Linked DNA regions of Homo sapiens: all the other regions are linked to region 3. Evidence: promoter capture Hi-C in 16 types of primary human blood cells and fetal thymus (Javierre and others, 2016). All regions are on one chromosome and are shown on one strand. Each heading gives the region's core, a stretch centred on a gene start or on the middle of the fragment in contact. The rest is flanking DNA. Distances are from core to core; before and after follow the strand shown.

Region 1 (2,700 bases), core at 105-2,604, 660 kb before region 3:
TATTTTCAAACACCATCACAAAATGTACTATACAATAAACCATAAAAGTCAGGGAAGAATTCATAATATCACTAGTTAAAAATCAAATGCATAAATAAAGGATTGCAGTCACTTTACCACAGTTTCAAGAGAGATCTTGAGATCTCTCCCCCCAGCCCCATGACAGCACATTTAAAAGAGTATTTATCTTGTAAATATAATTAATGCTACTGAATTGCACACTTTAAGAACGGTTAAAATGGTACAATTTTTGTTGTGTATATTTTACCACAATAAAAATAATACAAAAGAGGCCGGGCACAGTGACTCACGCTGTAATCCCAGCAACTTGGGAGGCTGAGGCAGGCGGGTTACTTCAGACCAGGAGTTTGTGACCAGCCTGGCCAACATGGTGAAACCCTGTTTCTATCAAAAAATACAAAAATTAGCCAGGCCTGTAATACTAGCTACTCGGGAGGCTGAGGCAGGAGAACTGCTTGGACCTAGGAGGCAGAGGCTGCAGTGAACTGAGATGGCGCCACTGCAATCTAGCCCAGGCAACAGAGCAAGACTCTTACAAAAAAAAAAAAAAATATATATATATATATATATATATATATATATATATAAAGAGGCCAGGCACAGTGGCTCACGCCTGTAATCCCAACACATTGGGAAGCCAAGGCCGGAGCATCGCTGAGCGGAGGAGTTCAAGAGCAGCTTGGGCAACATAGTGAGACCCCCATTTCTTAAAAATAAAAAAAGAAAAAAAAAATTAGGCAGGCATGATGGTTTGCACCTATAGACCCAGCTACTCAGGAGGCTGATGTGGGAAGATCACTTGAGCCCAAGAGTTCGAGGCTGCAGTGAGGTATGATTGCACCACTGCACTCTAGCCTGGGTGACAGAGTGAGACCCTTTATCAAAAAAAAAAAAATACAAAATACAAAAGAACATTTCTATATACATTTTTCTATTTATTAAAAAAGAAAGTGAAATGAAATGAAAATCAAAGCCCTGTCTTGAGACAAAGCATTTCAGACATCATTTAGTATTTTAAAAACAACAACAAACAAACTAATCAAGATCAAAGAACCCACTGCAGCAGCAAGGCAGCCTGGTATAAAGGTCTGGGAGATCAGAACACACTCAGTGCTCCGGCTCCCTTACCCTAGCGCCAGCGAAGGTACCACTGTCCTCAAACTGCCTCTAGGATATCTATAAAAACCAATTCTAACCCCCAAACCATAGAAATCCACAGAAACTCTGAGAGCACAGAGCAAAGTGGGAATGCCCAGGGCTATTTACAATCTCATTTTACAAGAGGCTGTTGCTCCTTAAAGACCTGGCCATATGTGCTATTACCTGGACCTGAGTAAAACGCACCTGAATGGATAAACAATGCCTCACAGGAGAGAAATAAAGCATTCAAAGGAACCCTCTGTCAAACCATGTCCAGGATTCTAGAACTCAAATTCTTCGTGTTGACTAAGATGGCAATTTGTTACTTTTAGGTCATTCTAAATGACCACCCGGGACAAAAGTGAAGCAATGCTGAGAAATCTAGTATAAAACTACATAAAGAAAGGTGCATCCTGCAAAAACCCTAAGAAAATCAAACAAACTCCTGCTGAGGCAGGAGTCTAGGGTTTCTCAGAAGAAATTCAGCAAAGATAACAACATTGCTGGAATCACCTAATTCAAATACAGAAATTAGTACTTCAATGACTACAATTCTTTGAATGAGAAGTTCATTGAGGCTGCTCCATTCCATTACGGATGGCCAAGTAAACACTTATATGATTCACTTTCATTCCCTGTTTAGCAAATCTAGGTAATATTATTAACACCCCCAACAAATAAACTAAGTTTTCAACTGGCATAGCTTTAAGTGCCCCTTATACTTCTAAAGGTAGGGGTACCTACTTTTGGGGGCTCAACTCACCCCCAAATTCCTTCTTTAGAGAGGTAAGGAACAAAGATTAACAAGGCTGAAGAGTATAAACAGGTCGGAAAGCCTCCAAAAAGACAGAAATATTTGAAATCTACTAAGACAAGGATATCAATGTCTGGAAGAAGGAATTTAATAATTTCCAACATTTTTAACCCCTCTGTAAATATAAAGCTCCCTCCCATCGATTTTACATCATTTCCAGGTCATGAATAAACTTATGAACCAGAATACTCCTAAGAGCATTACAATTTCTCCACTGACGTTTTAAAACACAAGAACAACAATACAATAAAGAGAAAACTTTATTTTTAGGTTTGCAAAATCCTGTGTTTATTTTTCTAAAACTGAAGTCAAACAACTGAACCTGCTTTGTTTGGATTTTAGTAAACTTATTCTCTCTTAATCCTGGGGGACCAAACTCTGCCCAGAAGGAAATGAAGAAAAAGTCCTCCGTGCCCGTGCCATGCTGGAAAGTTAAAACACGGTGCCTCCTTTGGTTTTCTGTTCAGGCACATCTGAGCCTCCTGCTGCTGGTCACGGTTCACACTGCTGGAGTCATATCATATGACACCTGCCGTATGGCGGGTAGAAGCAAAGGCTGTCAACTGGCATTCATGTTGAAACTGGTTCAGTGTTTGAACTGCTAACTTCTGCGTGTAATGTTTAAGCAAAAGTGCTTAACCACAAGTTCAGTCTTAATCTCTCAACTAGCATTAAACCCTAAATGGAAACAGGTTTGTAATTCCTTATAAACATTAAGCCCTTGC
Region 2 (2,700 bases), core at 126-2,625, 620 kb before region 3:
CTATAAGCAAAGAACACCATCAGAGATTAGCTATGGGTAGCAGTGATATTATTTGGTCTTAAATCTACATATTCTCTGTTTTTTGTTAGCATTATAATCAGTTCCTGTTTTTATGTTTCATGATAAAGGCAAGTGGATTTTTGTAATACTTAACTATTTATTATAAAGTTTTTGCTGTGTCTCCCCAGACTGGACCATTTATCCATGAAGCTTGAGTGACTAGAAGGCTTGTTAGACTTGTTCATTATAGGAAAATGTGCTTGCTCACTTGTCATTAAATGTATCAGTTGTGTGCTAAAGCCTACTCACACCAGCCTGCAAAAGCCAGTGAGGAATATATCTTCCCAACTCTGCTTTCAGTGACTTCATGTTATTTGCTTGAAATAAGCCAGAGTAGGAATATTATTGACACCACCAAAATAGGCAAATGCTAAAAATCACAGCTCTTTTCTTACCCTAGAGAGCTGGTTGTAAAATATTTACCAGCACATTACTAAAATATTTGTTTTAAGAAATTTAATCTGCTCACTTAAGTTGTAAATGAACTCACTAAATTTGTGTTAATTAATTTACCGTTCTATCTACTATGTATTTCTTATTAAGCATGGAACATTTTGATTCACTCTTATACATATGGAAAAATTGAACTCTGGCAGAGTTTATTCAAAAATTTGTCTTTGTACTTATACTTGCTTTTTCAGTTTCTCTCTTTTCTTATTTAATTTTTGTCCACTCGATATATAAAAACAGATGGAGGTATGTTTAAATATTCCCACTAATGGTTTTGTCAGTTTCATATTTTAAAGTTATATCATTTAGCTTATAGAAATTAATACTGTATTTCTGTTGTGTATTCTACCCTTAATATAAAATGATTCTTTGTTCCATTTAATGATCTTTTTCTCAATTTCTAGTTTGATAATAATAATGGCACTTTTCCTTTGTTTTACTCTCACACATAACTTTATTTTTACCTTTTTATTAACAAGTTATACTTGGACATGATTTTTTGACTCAATATGAAGATCTTTATTATTTAACTTCAAGTTACTTGTATTTATTAAGGAATGGATATACATGGTTTCCCTTCTTTTTTTATATATTTTATGCTTTCTTGCTGTTTTTTTAAAAATTATTTACTATGTTGTGTTAGGATCCTTGCTTTTTTCCCCTTTTGGTGATTTGACATTTTTATTTTGTTAATGGTTAAACTACACTGTCCATATTTCAATTTTTTTATTATGGACCAATCTTTGATTGCCTAGAATAATTTTAAGAAGTATATGTGATAAATTAGAAAATTTTTTGCAGCTAACGCTACAAAATATGATTCCCTCTCCAATATAGGGTTGCCAGCAATTAGGTAGCAAAACACTCACAGCCCAATTAATAAACAGGCATAGGATATGAACAGAAAGAAATACAAATGATCTTTAAACTTATGACAACATATTTACCTTTCTTTTTTTGCTTTTTGAGACAGGGGCTTGCTATGTTGCCCAGGCTGGAGTGCAATGGCTATTCACAGGTGTGATCATAGCACACTATCACCTCCAACTCCTGGCTTTAAGTGATCCTCTCACCTTATCCTCCTGAGTAGCTAGGACTACAGGCAGGGGCTAGTGCTCTGGCATCTAACCTTTTTTTTTTTTTCATCATTTTGAATTTGTCTTTTTAAGTTCTGGGAAAATTTCTTGAACATGTTTCCTAATTCCCTGAATCAAAGTTTTATCATATTTCATTTGCTTTTATTTCTTCTTATTGTTTATAATTTAGGAGCTGTGATTTGCATTTCCAAGAGCTCTTTCCTACTCTCAATTATTTTCCTTTTCATGGTTATGTGTCATAGTTTTATCAATGTATTGTCTTTATCAGTCTTGTTGAAAGCATACATTAGAAGTTTCCAAACTTCTTATTTCTTCAGGAACAACTTACTGTGATGATTCAGATTGGCTGCAGCTGTTCAAAATGTTATATATGTTTCTATATCTGATGATTTTCTCCCATCATCCTAAAGAGATTCTAGTTATACCGCTAATCACAATAGCTAGTGTTTATTGTGCATTTATTATAAGACAAGATTTGTGCTAAAGGATCCACACATGCCATTTAAGTAATCTTCACAACAGCTAGAAGTAATCTTCACAACAGCTGGATGCTAAATATTACTATCCTCATGTCCTAAGGGTACTACAAGTTCTCCACCCTTTCACAAGAATAAGATTACTTCACAGAGTATTCTGGGCACCGCCCAATCTACCCACCTGCAAGAAATGAACTACTGAACTGAAAGGAGAGTGCTTCATTTCTTGCAGGTGGGTAGATTGGGATGTGCATTTCCCCCACCTGTGCAGAAGATCTATTTTTCCCAGCTACTACCTCCAAGCCAAAAGTGTTCTGGTATCCACAGCTATAGTTCAGTTAGCTTTAGCTTTGCTTTGGTAGTTCTACTTTGGTCTTCCAGATAATGCCAGCCACAGTAAGTAACCTTTACATGTCCTTCAGAGACTTACGTTTAAAAGGCAATACTACATGTTTACCAAGCTTAAGCTGTAAATGAACTCCCTGAATTTGTGTTAATTAATTTACCATTCTATCTACTACGTATTTCCTATTAAGCATGGAACATTTTGATTGGCTCTTACACATGTTTACCAAACTTATATGAGCTCCATAAATAATTCGTATCAGTCAGGTGTT
Region 3 (2,700 bases), core at 36-2,535:
AATGCATTTCTTCCAGGTAAGGTACCAATAGACACTGAAGCCCAGTAACAATGGTGCTGTTAAATGATGGGACACAAAACTCGAAGAGAAGTTCAAAGTGATAGTTATAGCCTGTGAAGGACTCTAGTGAAGTCTTTTGTCTTTACTTAGGCCATGGTAAGCAAAGACAAAAATCTGAATGACAAAATAACAAGTAAGGTTACCTAGATCCATCCCTGGCCACCTTGTGAGGCTTTGTTGCTTTCCCACTAATCCTAGACACAATCCAGCTCTCTAAACCCAACATCTCTCTGACTTAGATCCATAGCCTCTTTGTGCTACCCTTCTGTTCATTCTCAGTCTACCCTGGTCCATAGTCCAGGGTCCAGTCGTAGTCTATAGTCCAGGACCAGAGTCCTGGTCTATAGTCTAGTCATAGTCCACAGCCGTAGATTATGGACCTATGACTTAGATCCACAGCCTCTTTGCGCTACCCTTCTGTTCATTCTTAGCATTTGTTTGGTGCTTTCCACTTCTGTTTAACACTCTGTTCTCAACAAACCATTTTCCTGATTGGTCAAAAGCCCTTTGATGTCTATTCCTATCTTTGTCACATGAATCATTCCCTATTCCTCTCAACTGTATTCTCTAGTTAATAAAAGATACAATTTGATCCTAACACATTTCTATTATCCAAATGACTTTCATTTCTGCTTTCTTGTCTTATAGTCAAAAAACAACACATTTCTTTCCCTGTTCCATATATATTCTATCATTCTCTTGGATAAAGAAAATTGAACTATTCTTATTTTAAATCAGTGATCAGAACATAATCTGTCATATCATATATTTTTCATACCCAGATATTTATTCAACCATTTTCCTCAAAGACCCAATAAAATAGAGAGCCACAGCCTATCTTAAATTAAAATGCAGGGCTTTATGGGCTATTTGACATGCAATAATTATTTGCAAAGTCTTTTCACCAAACATAGAAATTGCTAATGTCTGACCTTGGAGGAAATGAACTGTACAAAAAATTTCAAGCAAACATGATCCAACTGTTCGCACAAAAGGGAGGTTGCATAAGAAATTCATTGTGTTTCTATCCAAATTTCCCCCTCGAATTGCCACAGATCAGCATGTACTTCACTCTTTGCCACCAATTAAAATCATAAATAGATGAGCTATTCAGCAGAGGAGGGCTGGTGTGCCCTCTCCACAGATGGTCAGCATCACATGTTGCAGTAATGGCTCGACATGCCACAAAGGCACAGTATAAAAACGGTGGGAATCAGAGCACTTCAGCTCCAATTGCTCTATGTTTAGAATTGCCTCTTTTTCAAGATGGATTTCCTTCACAGGAATGGAGTGCTCATAATTCAGCATTTGCAGAAGGACTACCGAGCTTACTACACTTTTCTAAATTTTATGTCCAATGTTGGAGACCCCAGGAATATCTTTTTCATTTATTTTCCACTTTGTTTTCAATTTAATCAGACAGTTGGAACCAAGATGATATGGGTAGCAGTCATTGGGGATTGGTTAAATCTTATATTTAAATGGTAAGATTTCTGTTTTATTTCATTTTTTCCTAAGATTTATCCTTAAATTTGTGACTTCGGCATAATGATCACATTTCAGATGTATATCGTTTTACTTGGAAAATCTTTCAAAAATACCAGGTAACTTGAAACACCAGATTCATAAGTAGAACTTTTAAAAGGCACAGAAATGTATATATATGTTTTTGTTTTTTTTTTTTTTTTGAGACAGAGTTTTGCCCTTGTTGCCCAGGATGGAGTGCAATGGCGTGATCTCGGCTCACTGCAACCTCTGCCTCCCAGGTTCAAGCAATTCTCTCACCTCAGCCTCCCGAGTAGCTGGGATTACAGGCATGTGCCACCACACCCAGCTAATTTTGTATTTTTAGTAGAGACAGGGTTTCTCTATGTTGGTCAGGCTGGTCTCTAACTCCCGACCTCAGGTGATCCACCGACTTCGGCTTCCTAAAGTGCTGGGATTACAGGTGTGAGCCACCACGCCAGGCCAGAAATGTGTACTTTAATGACTTATAAGTAATTCCCAAACCCCTGTAACACATATTCTGTGATTAAGAATTACTTACATGAGCAGCGTGATAATGAACAAATTGATAATTCTAGGGACAAATTTTGATATTTCCAGTCTAAGTATCCAAAGCACCCATAAGACATTCCCTGCAAGGGAAAAAAGCCCCCATGTTCATGGGAAACCAGGGTGCCAAAATACCAAATGGCTACCACCTTTAATAATGTGTGAGAGACCAAGACCTAAGTTTTTTCAAAGTCTCTTAATCATGAACTTTCACAATTAACCCTGCGCTTGAGTCATTTTTTATAGGAAAGAATTGCTAATCTCCAATTAAATAATAGCTGTGTATTTAAATATATATGCATGTTTATAATTCTTTAAATACAGGATATTATTTGGTCATCGACCTTACTGGTGGGTCCAAGAAACTCAGATTTACCCAAATCACTCAAGTCCATGCCTTGAACAGTTCCCTACTACATGTGAAACAGGTCCAGGTAAGCTATTACAGCAGGCTCCAGTTACTGAAGATCTTCCAATAGAGAATCATTACACAGGGTTATCATCTAGGAACTGATATTATATAGGGTAGTAAAGAAAATCTCATGAGTGAGGATGCTAAAACTTCATAACAATCAAAATTACTAA
Region 4 (2,700 bases), core at 103-2,602, 800 kb before region 3:
ACACTGTTGGTGGGAGTGTAAATTAGTTCAAGCATTGTGGAAGACAGTGTGGTGATTCCTCAAGGATCTAGAACCAGAAACACAATTTGACCCAGCAATCCCATTACTGGGTATATACCCAAAGGATTATAAATCATACTACTATAAAGACACATGCACATGTATGTTTATTGTGGCACTATTCACAATAGCAAAGACTTGGAACCAACCCAAATGCCCATCAATGACAGACTGGTTAAAGAAAATGTGGCACATATACACCATGGAATACTATGCAGCCATAAAAAGGAATGAGTTCATGTCCTTTGCAGCGACACAGATGAAGCTGGAAACCATCATTCTCAGCAAACTAACACAGGAACAGAAAACCAAACACTGCAGGTTCTCACTCATAAGTGGGAGTTGAACAATGAGAACACTTGGACACAGGGAGGGGAACATCACACACCAGGGCTTGTCGGGGGTTAGGGGCAAGGGGAGGGATAGCATTAGGAGAAATACCTAATGTAGATGATGGGTTGATGGGTGCAGCAAACCACCATGGCACATGTATACCTATGTAACAAATCTGCACGTTCTGTACATGTATCCCAGAACTTAAAGTATAATAAAAAGAAAAAGAAAAAGCCTACATTTGAGAGCTTACTTGGTATACTACTTACTGCACTACACTAAGAACTGTGCTATGTTTTTAAAAAATATATACATTGGCCAGGCGCTGTGGCTCACACCTGTAATCCCAGCACTTTGGGAGGATGAGGCAGGTGGATCACTTGAGGCCAAGAGTTCAAGACCAGACTGGCCAACATGGTGAAACCCCATCTCTACTAAACATACAAAAATTAGCCAGGCATGGTGGCGTGCACCTATAGTCCCAGCTACTCTGGAGGCTGGGACACATTAATTGCTTGAACCTGGGAGGCAGAGGCTGCAGGGGGCCGAGATCATGCCACTGCACTCCAGCCTGGGCAACCGAGCAAGACTCTGTCTCAAAAAAAATAAAAACAAAAAAATTAAAATAAAATATATACATTTTTATTGAGAGATAATCCACCGTAAAACTCAACTATGTAAAATGGGAATGTCAATTGTTAGTATATTCACAGAATTGTGCAACCATCACCACAATCAATTTTAGAACATTGCTGTCACCCCAAAAAGAAACTCCTATCCCCATTAGCAGTTATGCCCCAATTTCCCCCTACCCACCAGCCCTAGGCAACCATTAATCTACTTCTATCTCTATGGATTTGCCTGTTTTGGGTATTTCACATAAACGGAATCATCCAATATGGGTCTTTCTTTCCATTCATTAGTTGATGACAGTTGGGTTGTGTCCACTTTGGGCTACTATGGATAATACTGCCTTGAACATTCATGTACACTTTTTTTTTTTTAATGGACATAACCTTCTCATTTCTCTTCCATTTGTACCTAGAAGTAGAATTTCTGGGCCATATGCTAACCTTCTGAGGAAATGCCAGACTGTCTTCCAAAGTGGCTGCACCATTTTATACTCCCACCAGCATGGGAGGGTTCCAGTTCTTCCACATCCTCAGCAACACTTGCTTTTGTCCATCTTTTTTATTAGTGCCATCCTAGCGGGTATGAGGTAGTATCCTGTTGTGATTTTCATTTGCATTTCCCTCCCTTGCATGATCTTATGAGGTAAAAACCAATCCGTATTCCTGTTGGGTATACAAGGAAACTGGATTGGAAAGGTTCAGTGACTGATTAAAGATAAAAGTCATATGCAGATTCTGCACTCTCCAGAGCCCATTTCAATGCACAACTACAAGGTCTCACAAATTCTGAGAAGGCTGTACAAGCCAGCCCTTCAAGATTCTTCCAGCTATGACATTCTGGGACCATGAATTTATACTGTTTAAAAATCTCTTCTCAGCCAGGTGCGGTGGCTCACGCCTGTAATCCCAGCACTTTGGGAGGCCAAGGCGGGCAGATTATGAGGTAAGGAGATTGAGACCTTCCTGGCTAACACGGTGAAACCCCGTCTCTACTAAAAATACAAAAAAAATTAGTCTGTGTGGTGGTGGGCACCTGTAGTCCCAGCTACTCGGGAGGCTGAGGCAGGAGAATGGCATGAACCTGGGAGGCGGAGCTTGTAGTGAGCCGAGATTGCACCACTGCACTCCAGCCTGGGCGACAGAGCGAGAATCCGTCTCAAAAAAAAAAAAAAAAAAAAAAAAAAATCTCTTCTCTGGGTGAATTTTCTCTTTGGATTCAATATGAGGACTATTTGGACTCCTTCTGTGTAGGTTTGTGTTCCAATCACAGGGATGATGAGGCTACATCCCTGTCACACTGGCTCAGGGTCACATCTGAGGTCTACCTTGAGCAAGTATACTGAACTTAATATTTTGGCTGCACCAGAAAAAATCACCCATATTCAAGCATTCTGGACTGCTGATGATGACAATTTCATGTTTCATGTGTATTTCGTAAACTAATCTCACTCCTGGCTTTCTATTTACTTTCTTATCCTTATGTTCCTTTACCTTCCTTTTTGCATTTATCAAATAAATTTTACCCAGCTACACTGTTTGCATCTTTGTAAGCCATCTCGAATCTTTTCTGAAATAGAGTAGTAAAGAAATAAACACATCAAAATGTTTTCAAGTAGGCTTCAAAATAGCCCACAGCTGCGGACCCTTTCATTAGACTGTGTATTTTCCTAAGCAA
Region 5 (2,771 bases), core at 170-2,669, 720 kb before region 3:
CTCCAAGGAACAAAAAATAAGAATTCTAAAAACATGGAGGGGTAGGTGGTGAGAAAAATCTTTTATTAAAGCTTTACAGCTAGAGAATTGTTACTGCTTTACAACTACAGCTAACTAAGGAACGACTGGCTACTTCTCATCTCTAGACAGAATTATGAAGCTTTGTGACCTGAGATCATTGTCACAACATGGATGGATTTAACCATTCATTAAACAGTTTGGGAGATTCTACTCTAAATCCAAAGATTTCCCTTCAACTATAGAAGAGACCAAGAACAAAGTTAAAGGTGGAAAGGCACCTTAGAGAGCATCAAGTCCAACCCACCCCCTCACTTTATGAATGAGAAAACAGGGTCCTGTGAAGGATAGGGATGTGTTTCCTGCAGCAATTGGAAAGCACAGGATTAGGACCCTAGGCATACTTATTCCTTATCTACCATTCTGTGCACCAGGTTGGTGTTTTTTCAAATTGCCAGTGAGGATCCACTGGTCACAAAATCAACTAACTGGGTGGAGGCCAGCATTGTTTAAGGGAAGCATCAGAATGTAATAAGGGTAAAAACTGCTTTATGAAACTTTTGTTTCACTTACGCCCAAGCTTTAGTATGACATGTTTTACTGTAAGTGATGATCAAAAGTTTGGAGTCTGCTAGTACTAGATTAGGATTCCCAGGATTAGAGTAAATCCATGCTTTGAAAGGAAAGGAGGTGACCTAACTGCATAATTCTAAAGGACATTTAGAAATAATACCAACACTGTCTTGCTTTAAGGGTTTTTATGCACTTTGCTGATTAGTTTAAGAGGAAGCTAAAAAATGTGGGGCTTGTAAATACAGGAACTGGACAAGTGTTAGCAACATGAAATAAAATAAGAGCAATTACTATGCTGAACAGCACCTTGTATTTATTTTGAACAATATATGATACTGACACATGACTCATTAACATTAGTAGCATATTTTCAATGAAGTATCATGCACCCCTTTTGGAATAAGAGTTCTTAACATTTTATGAATTTCTCATTTTATTCCTGACTCCTATTTCAAGTGCAATAAATCATTCAATAGGATTATGGCCTGTATGCACATATGCACAAGTTAAGTGGGCACGGCTTTAAATCTTTTCAGTTCACTCTTTTAAGTCACTCTATCTCAATTCACTTTTGCTAAGTAATTCCCGACTAAGAACAGCTACTTGGAAGTTTTAGATAGTGATTATGTCAATGGCAATCAGAGGTAAGAGATTGCTCACGTTCATTACCATGATGCAGATTTTTCCTTTAGTTGACACCTCTTCTCATTTTCCCCTCTGTACTGCTGCTGGTATTAAGGTAAATAACCAGAACACTGCATACCTGCATTTTATACTTTCAGTTATCCAAAGAAATATTTCATGGAAATATAATTTAGTATTCTAACTTTGCATTTCACTAAGGTCTATGTGAAATTAACATGAAAAACTACAGTGTTTATTTTGCAAAAATCACTACTATTGTCAAATGCAGTTTCAACAGTATGTTCAAAGTCCCTACTCCCATGACTCACACAATAACTTCCTCTTTGCATTTAGTGCATTTAGTGCAAAAAAGCAGCAAAAAGATATTTGCTTATATTAATTCATCAACAAACAGTAATTAAATCCCTGCCATGTAGCAGGCAGTTCACTAGATAATAAAGTGCCAAAGGTGACCATTCCTGCTTCAAGTGGAATAAATCCTTCTATAGGATCACTTCCTCTGCAGAAGTTAACAGGGATGACTAAAATGCTGTTGTGGACTGAATGTCTGTGTTCCCCTAAAATGTCTTTGTTGAAGCCCTAATCCCCAATGTGACTATATTTAGAGATACAGTTAACAGATAATTACCACCTTTATGGAGGTAATTAAAGGTTAAATGAGGTCATCAGGACAGAGCCCTGGTCCAATAGGATTAGTATCCTTACAAAAAGAGACAATAGAGAGCTTACTTTCCCTCTCTGTCCTATGAGGACACAGCAAGAAGGTGCCTGTTTACAAGCCAGCAAGAGAGCCCACCAGAAACTGAAGTGGTCAGCACATTGATCTGGACTTCCTAGACTCCAGAACTGTGAGAAATACATTTCTGTTGTTTAAGCCACTCAGTATATGGTATTTTGTTACAACAGCCCAAGCAGACTAATACAAAAGCCTTGAAATGTCTGTTCAAAGTCATTCTTCCACTAACACCTATGGCAGAGAATGCCATACTAATTAGAAGTTCTTAGAAGCTTCCTGATTAAGTCAACAGCAAATGGCAAGATTCAACTGAAAGGCCTCTGGTAGCTCATTGTAGTTCCCATCTTAGGTTAGTAGGAGCCTTGAAAAGAAGGTTAGACAGGGATTCTATCCAAACGTGGTATTGATTCCCTCTGTGACTTTCGACCTAACTGCTATCTAGACTTCAGCTTCCTTAATGGGCATAATAAAATACACCTTTAAGGCTTCATAACATAATATATTTCACATCCCTGGAAAACATCAACTCAATAAATGTTAGGCTCTCTCTCTGGGACTCATTTCTCCATCTGTGACATAAAGGAGGTAAACTATATCTACTGTTTATATGGCACCCAAGGGAAAAGAGGGCAAAGTGGCTCAGGGTCAGAACTGAGTTTCATTTTGCTTAGCACCAGGAAGATTAGACTGGTTTAAAAGAGAGGCTAGGAGAGCTAAATTTGGAAACCAAAGAACTAAATGATTTCTAAAGTCTGATACAGCATGATGAGCATAAGAGTTTAAAATATAAGAGACAATC
Region 6 (2,700 bases), core at 37-2,536, 740 kb before region 3:
AGCAGAAAGCACTTGCAGACATGACCAGAAAAACAGGCAGGTCCCTCATCTGCCATTAGTAGGAAGCTGGAGCTTTATTCCATCAACAATGCTTTATTCCATCAACAATGCTTATAAACTTTATGCAAGAGGAAGATACAGTCAGATCTACACTGCAGATTCTTCACTCTGGTGATATTGAGGAAACTGATGGGAAAAAGAAAAGAGCAAAATAACACGGCAGGAGGTCAGATGGAGTGCCTAAGGCCTCGCACCTCCCTAGCCACCGTGAGCTTACCACACCCTAAGTAATTAGAGGACACCATCCCAATTTCAATACGAAAGCAATGAGTTAGCAAATTCTAAAATAAAATGTGTTTTAACTCCTTTAATGCCGCAGTATATTCTCATTACACAAACGTGCAAAATGAGGCACAGAGAAGCTAAAGCTATAACTTGGTTACACAGCTAGAAGGAGCAATGCCAGGACTGAACTATGGCTGTCTGGTGTCAGAGCCCATGCTCTGGGCCAAGGTGCTCATAAATGTGATGACATCATTTCCTGATTGGATGCCTCCGGGGCTTTCAGCGCTTTCCCACACTAATCAGAAGCTGACTCCAGCGCTGCTCGGGTGCCTTGCTCAAAGCAGCAGCCTCTCTTCCCTACAACACAAAAAATAACTCTTAAACCCCTACCCTCCCCATCAAAGTGCACTTTATGAGGGCCAAAGGCCACAGAAGGAAAATGAAAGAACCTAGCAGCTATGGGTGTAAAAACTCAACCACCTTGCCCATCTTCCTCTAGCTCCTTAATGGATAACGCCTAAGTGACAGAAGCAAGTTAAGTTTCATTGCATGTTTTCCTAGCACTTTTAGTCATGGGGTTTTCAGTGTTCAAGATGCAGATTTAAAATGAAGATGTATTCAAGGCTGATAAGGATATTATCTCCCTCCCAGTAAATAAGAGATGCTACCCAAAGTTCTACCAATGTACCTTGGACAGTGAAAAACCCAGGGCATAAGCTTGATTTGAATGGATGCACATACGTGAGGCATTTTGATGGTAACTTTCTAGAGTTCCAGGCTGCTTTCGCTCAGTACCAGTTTTTATTTCTGTTATGTAAAACCAGGGAAGGGAAATTCACATTCACACACATAAGCACTGTCTTTGTGTATTGGGCCTACTATAACAAAATACCTTAGACTGGGTGACTTAAAAACAACAAAATCTTATTTATCACAGTTCTGCAGGCTGGGAAGTCCAAGATTATGGCATCGGCAGATTCACTATCTAGTAAGGACCCGCCTTCTTGTTTATAGATGGTGCCTTCTGTTCGTGTCCTCACATGGTAGAAGGGCACGGCAGCTCTCTGGGGCCTCTTTATAAAGGCACTGGCCCTACTCATGAGGGTTTAGGCCTCATGATCTTATTACCTCCCAAAGGCCCCACCTCCTAACACCATCACATTGGTAATTAGGGTTCAACATATGAATTTGGAGGGCACACAAAATTCAAACCACAGCACACACACACCTAAAAGGCAAACGTAAGTGAAAATGAGCATGAGATCTACCTTACATAATGTAGTAGTAAGCTTCTACAAAGTTCTTTATAAATCAAAGGTGTTGAAATCAACATTTTTATAGAACATCAAGAGTAGCCACTATTTTTTTTAAATCTTAGATTAAAAAGATTAGCAGAAACCACCTCAAAGTGATCTGTTTCATATGAATTTCTGTTTGCTCAAAATAGTGTCTCTCATTAATTCTGGACAAACAGGCTTAGTCATTTGCCAAAGCACTAAGCTCTTCCTGACAATATGACAGGGCATCAAATTGGAAGATAAAATGCTATGCCGTGGGAAGAACATGACTTTCGAGTAGCCACTCCCCCTTCTATCACACAGTGCAGCAAAACCTATTACATTTTCCAAGGCATCCAAGTTGATTATCAGGAAGTTACACACACTGGACCTCTAAGCATAGAAGGTACAGTAAGAAGGAAAGCATTTTCTCTTAAACCCTGAGTAGGCTGTCCTCAGGTTCTAATTCACTACATCAAACCTGAAGTTTTCCAGTCTGAAAAGAGTGTGGTGTCATTATTGAGCTTAATTCTATACCAAATGACGCTTAGATGGCTGCTTCTCCTATGCCCTGAAACCTTACCAGGGACACCCTTGTGTTTCAGCCTGAAGGAGCAAGGAGGAAGAAGGTGCTGAATATGTTCCCTGGCCCAAAGGGGAATCGATTTATGCAGAGACACAGAAGAGCTAGTGATCGCTGGGGTATATTCCATCTGAAAGTGAGGTCATTTAAATCCAGATTTAAGGTCCTCCTCCTGGAAATCCCATAGATGTGAGTTGACAGTTTCTAGAGTCAGACTGTCCAAACCCAAAGCATGGCTACACCGCTTATTCTACGTGTGACCTGGGCAACTGACTTCCCCACTGTAATTTAGTTTCTCCTATGTAAAATGGATGCAATAGTACCTTCCTCATGGAGTTGTGCTGAGGACTGAATGAGACTCAAAGCATTCAGAATCCAAAACCTAGCCTGACACACAGGAAGCACTCAAGACACATTAGTTCCTGATTTTATACCCACGTTCAATAGAAATGTACATTCTTCCCAGAGAATTTGGACTGTGTTCAACAGAACCAGGCTCATTATCCTATCCACCACACTTCTAGCTGCATAATAAAGTGAGGGTTTCTCATGGTC
Region 7 (2,700 bases), core at 108-2,607, 760 kb before region 3:
GCAGGATATTCAAATCCTGAGAGGTCAGTTCAACCTACACAGTGAAGAATATTAGCTCAGCTTCTGAATGCAGCACTGCCAATTTCTTTTGATTTCTGTTTTACTTCATTTCCTTTGATGACAGAGCCCACACTTAACAAGCACAGTGAATCTTGTTAACACCACAATTTTTCCTCTGCCTCTCCTTCGTTCTTCACCCACTTCTTTCCCTCTTGGACCCACACCGTCTTTCACTAACAGGTTGGAAATCTGGGGACCACAGCAGGGTTTCCCAGACAAGAAATACCTTTCCAGTGTCCTCACAAAGCCTTTCCCCATCTACAAACAAAGCTTTGTCATGGCTCAAACCAGGTCATTAACTCATCCACTAAGTTTCACTTACCTTTTGGAAGGATCTTTCTGAAGACACAGTGAAAGTAATTTTCTAAAGGACTTGCCGTACTTTTTCATCATTTCTTTATCCTCTACCCCTGTTTCCAAAGTGGGTGGATCATTTTGCAAAGTCAACATTAACACCTGCAGCAGAAACAAACATGAAGACAGAATCTCAGTATAGCAATTGCTACAATCTAGTTTTGAATTTTTCATAAAAGTGTAAAAAACCATCCTTGATTAGATACAAAGTGCTTTCCCATGATTTTAACTTTGCAGAAATTGTGTATTTAAAGTATTCATTACCACTGCAAATGTGTTCATGCCCCCTTTAACCTTTTTGTTATTCCATTGACAGAACTTACAAAACTTGCTCTATGTGTTAAGAATGATCCCGGACAGAGCTTTCTGGGAACTGGCTCGTGTACTGCCTTGAGGAGCACGTAGCTCCAGCACAGGCTAGTTGGGAAAGCGGGTGGAGGAGAAGAGAGAGGGCCAGCGAGGCAGTGACTGTTCATGTATACAGGTCATTCATAAGTAAGGAACTGCCTGTACTCAAGGCTTCTGTAACACATTACTAGCCCTAAAAATAAAACCACAACATCCCAGGAGGTAACATGATTTCCTTTAAAAAAATGAGAAAACATACAGAAAATTGCTAAAAGGCTTGGCAAAGCTGAGAGAGCAGGACACTGAAGGATAGCCAGAATATAACTGAGTTGCTAAAAACTGTCATCAAATCCAAAGTCCTTGCTGCTTTCGGAGGGGGACAAAACAAAATAAAATACAACTTTAAATCAAAACGGTAAAAATTCCACTCTTTCATACTAACTTCAAAAGTATTTGCTTTAAAAAAAAAGTGGAAAGTGTAGAAAACTACTAGCCTGTACAATCAATAAAACTCATTAATGCATAATTCAGCCTTAATTTATGCAAATGCTATACATGTCAAGCCTCTTTTCAAACACTTTCAGATGTGTGAATAGATGAAGCGTGAAAGTGACGGCTTATTGTTTGTGGAGGATAATAGCCCACAGGAGAAAGCGGGAGACTGGGAACTCTGAAGAAAAGTCCTAGAGGACGTCAGGCTGGGACAAGCAAGTGCGACTTTGAATTCAGGTGGGAAACACTGAGAAGAGGCAAAAGAAAGAAAATGAAGAAAGAAAAACTGAATAAAAGAAAAAATCCTTCAGCATTACTTCAGTGCTTTTTCTCCAAGAGGTCACTTCAATTGTTTACGCTTCAATTTTAAATTTTCTGCTAGCAAAATCCGGTATATGTACCCACACACACACAAATACACTAAAATCCTAACTATGTTAAAAAAAATTTATATATATATATATAAAAACAATAAAATGAATTACACTGAAACCTTAGTAGAGATTGTCTGGTTGATGAGATTACGGATGATTGTTTTTCTTCTTTAGTCTGAGTTGCACATCCAAACTTTCTACAATATGAGTATACTACTTCTTTTAATCAGTAAAACTCACTTTTTATTCTTGGGTTTTTAAAATAAATCCTCCCAAATTTTTCCAGTAACCATGAAACAATCATAGACCATACTCTATGTAAAATAGCATTATAATTTCACTAAACTATTTCAGCCTCAAAACAAAATCCAGTTGGGTAAATAAGCCCTGATACCACTATCTCAGAACTAAGAGAAATAATGAGGTATAAACCAGTTAAAAGAAGAGCAGAAACGTGAAAATAGCATCCTAAAAACACTGTGGCTCACTTATATCAGATCAGTTGCCAACATTACACTATAAGAGCAGGGGTAAAAATGTTGTAGTCCACTTAAAAAGAAAGAAAAAAAAAAGCTCTGAAAATCTGGGAAACCCATTTGCAGAGATGACATCACTATAATCTATTTTGAGATATTCTCTGGGAACCTGGCGTTGTTCTGCTATCAAAAGAGTAATGACCAGCATTTGTCATAGCTATCAACCTCCATCAACCAATCTGATAACATTATTTTCTTAACTCTGTGCTGAGACTATAAAGCAAGCTTCAAAGCTGGGAATTATGCTACTTTTGTCCTATTCTGTCCACTGAGAAAATCAGACAATGTTCAACTTGGCTGCGTTCCTCCATTAATTCTCCTCGGGTCTAAGAGAAGAATGAAGATGTTGAAGAGAATTAGAAAACAGATTCCGTCCAATCACATTTCAACCCCGATGTAGTATTTCCAATTGTAATTACTTTCATGGGAGGATATTTGTGATAAGGCGCTGCTCCTGTTGCTAATTCAATGGCAGTTATTCCAAAACTCCACATGTCAGCCTTGAAGTCATAGCCTCTCACCTAAGAAAGAAAGCA

The links. Contacts are between HindIII fragments. The CHiCAGO score rates a contact against its expected background, and 5 or more counts as called.
Region 1: a fragment that was not itself captured here is called in contact with the fragment with the promoter of G6PC2 in region 3 in 1 of 17 cell types (monocytes); the score reaches 5.1 in monocytes.
Region 2: a contact is called between a fragment that was not itself captured here and the fragment with the promoter of G6PC2 in region 3, in 1 of 17 cell types (monocytes). The highest score is 6.2, in monocytes.
Region 4: a fragment that was not itself captured here is called in contact with the fragment with the promoter of G6PC2 in region 3 in 1 of 17 cell types (total CD4 T cells); the score reaches 5.3 in total CD4 T cells.
Region 5: a contact is called between a fragment that was not itself captured here and the fragment with the promoter of G6PC2 in region 3, in 1 of 17 cell types (fetal thymus). The highest score is 5.5, in fetal thymus.
Region 6: a contact is called between a fragment that was not itself captured here and the fragment with the promoter of G6PC2 in region 3, in 7 of 17 cell types (monocytes, activated CD4 T cells, fetal thymus and 4 more). The highest score is 9.1, in monocytes.
Region 7: a fragment that was not itself captured here is called in contact with the fragment with the promoter of G6PC2 in region 3 in 9 of 17 cell types (total CD4 T cells, naive CD8 T cells, fetal thymus and 6 more); the score reaches 9.9 in total CD4 T cells.

What each region holds. Positions count from the first base shown.
Region 1 is chr2:168,241,990-168,244,689 of GRCh38, forward strand. All of the region lies in intron 1 of STK39 (serine/threonine kinase 39), which reads right to left. Among named protein-coding and RNA genes, the nearest start is that of STK39, 4.3 kb to the right of the region's middle. The HindIII fragment of the contact is 5,114 bases long and covers 1-2,700 here.
Region 2 is chr2:168,279,271-168,281,970 of GRCh38, forward strand. No RefSeq gene overlaps it. Among named protein-coding and RNA genes, the nearest start is that of STK39, 33 kb to the left of the region's middle. The HindIII fragment of the contact is 2,334 bases long and covers 209-2,542 here.
Region 3 is chr2:168,900,006-168,902,705 of GRCh38, forward strand. It overlaps G6PC2 (glucose-6-phosphatase catalytic subunit 2), which reads left to right and starts at 1,286. Exons shown (of 5, transcript NM_021176.3): 1 at 1,286-1,544; 2 at 2,440-2,549. The coding sequence starts at 1,327. The HindIII fragment of the contact is 12,445 bases long and covers 1-2,700 here.
Region 4 is chr2:168,100,747-168,103,446 of GRCh38, forward strand. All of the region lies in intron 10 of STK39 (serine/threonine kinase 39), which reads right to left. Among named protein-coding and RNA genes, the nearest start is that of STK39, 150 kb to the right of the region's middle. The HindIII fragment of the contact is 5,155 bases long and covers 1-2,700 here.
Region 5 is chr2:168,184,210-168,186,980 of GRCh38, forward strand. All of the region lies in intron 1 of STK39 (serine/threonine kinase 39), which reads right to left. Among named protein-coding and RNA genes, the nearest start is that of STK39, 62 kb to the right of the region's middle. The HindIII fragment of the contact is 1,646 bases long and covers 597-2,242 here.
Region 6 is chr2:168,156,279-168,158,978 of GRCh38, forward strand. The region is part of intron 5 of STK39 (serine/threonine kinase 39); the gene reads right to left. Among named protein-coding and RNA genes, the nearest start is that of STK39, 90 kb to the right of the region's middle. The HindIII fragment of the contact is 572 bases long and covers 1,001-1,572 here.
Region 7 is chr2:168,137,706-168,140,405 of GRCh38, forward strand. It overlaps STK39 (serine/threonine kinase 39), which reads right to left. Exons shown (of 18, transcript NM_013233.3): 7 at 2,584-2,685; 8 at 383-516. Among named protein-coding and RNA genes, the nearest start is that of STK39, 110 kb to the right of the region's middle. The HindIII fragment of the contact is 2,059 bases long and covers 329-2,387 here.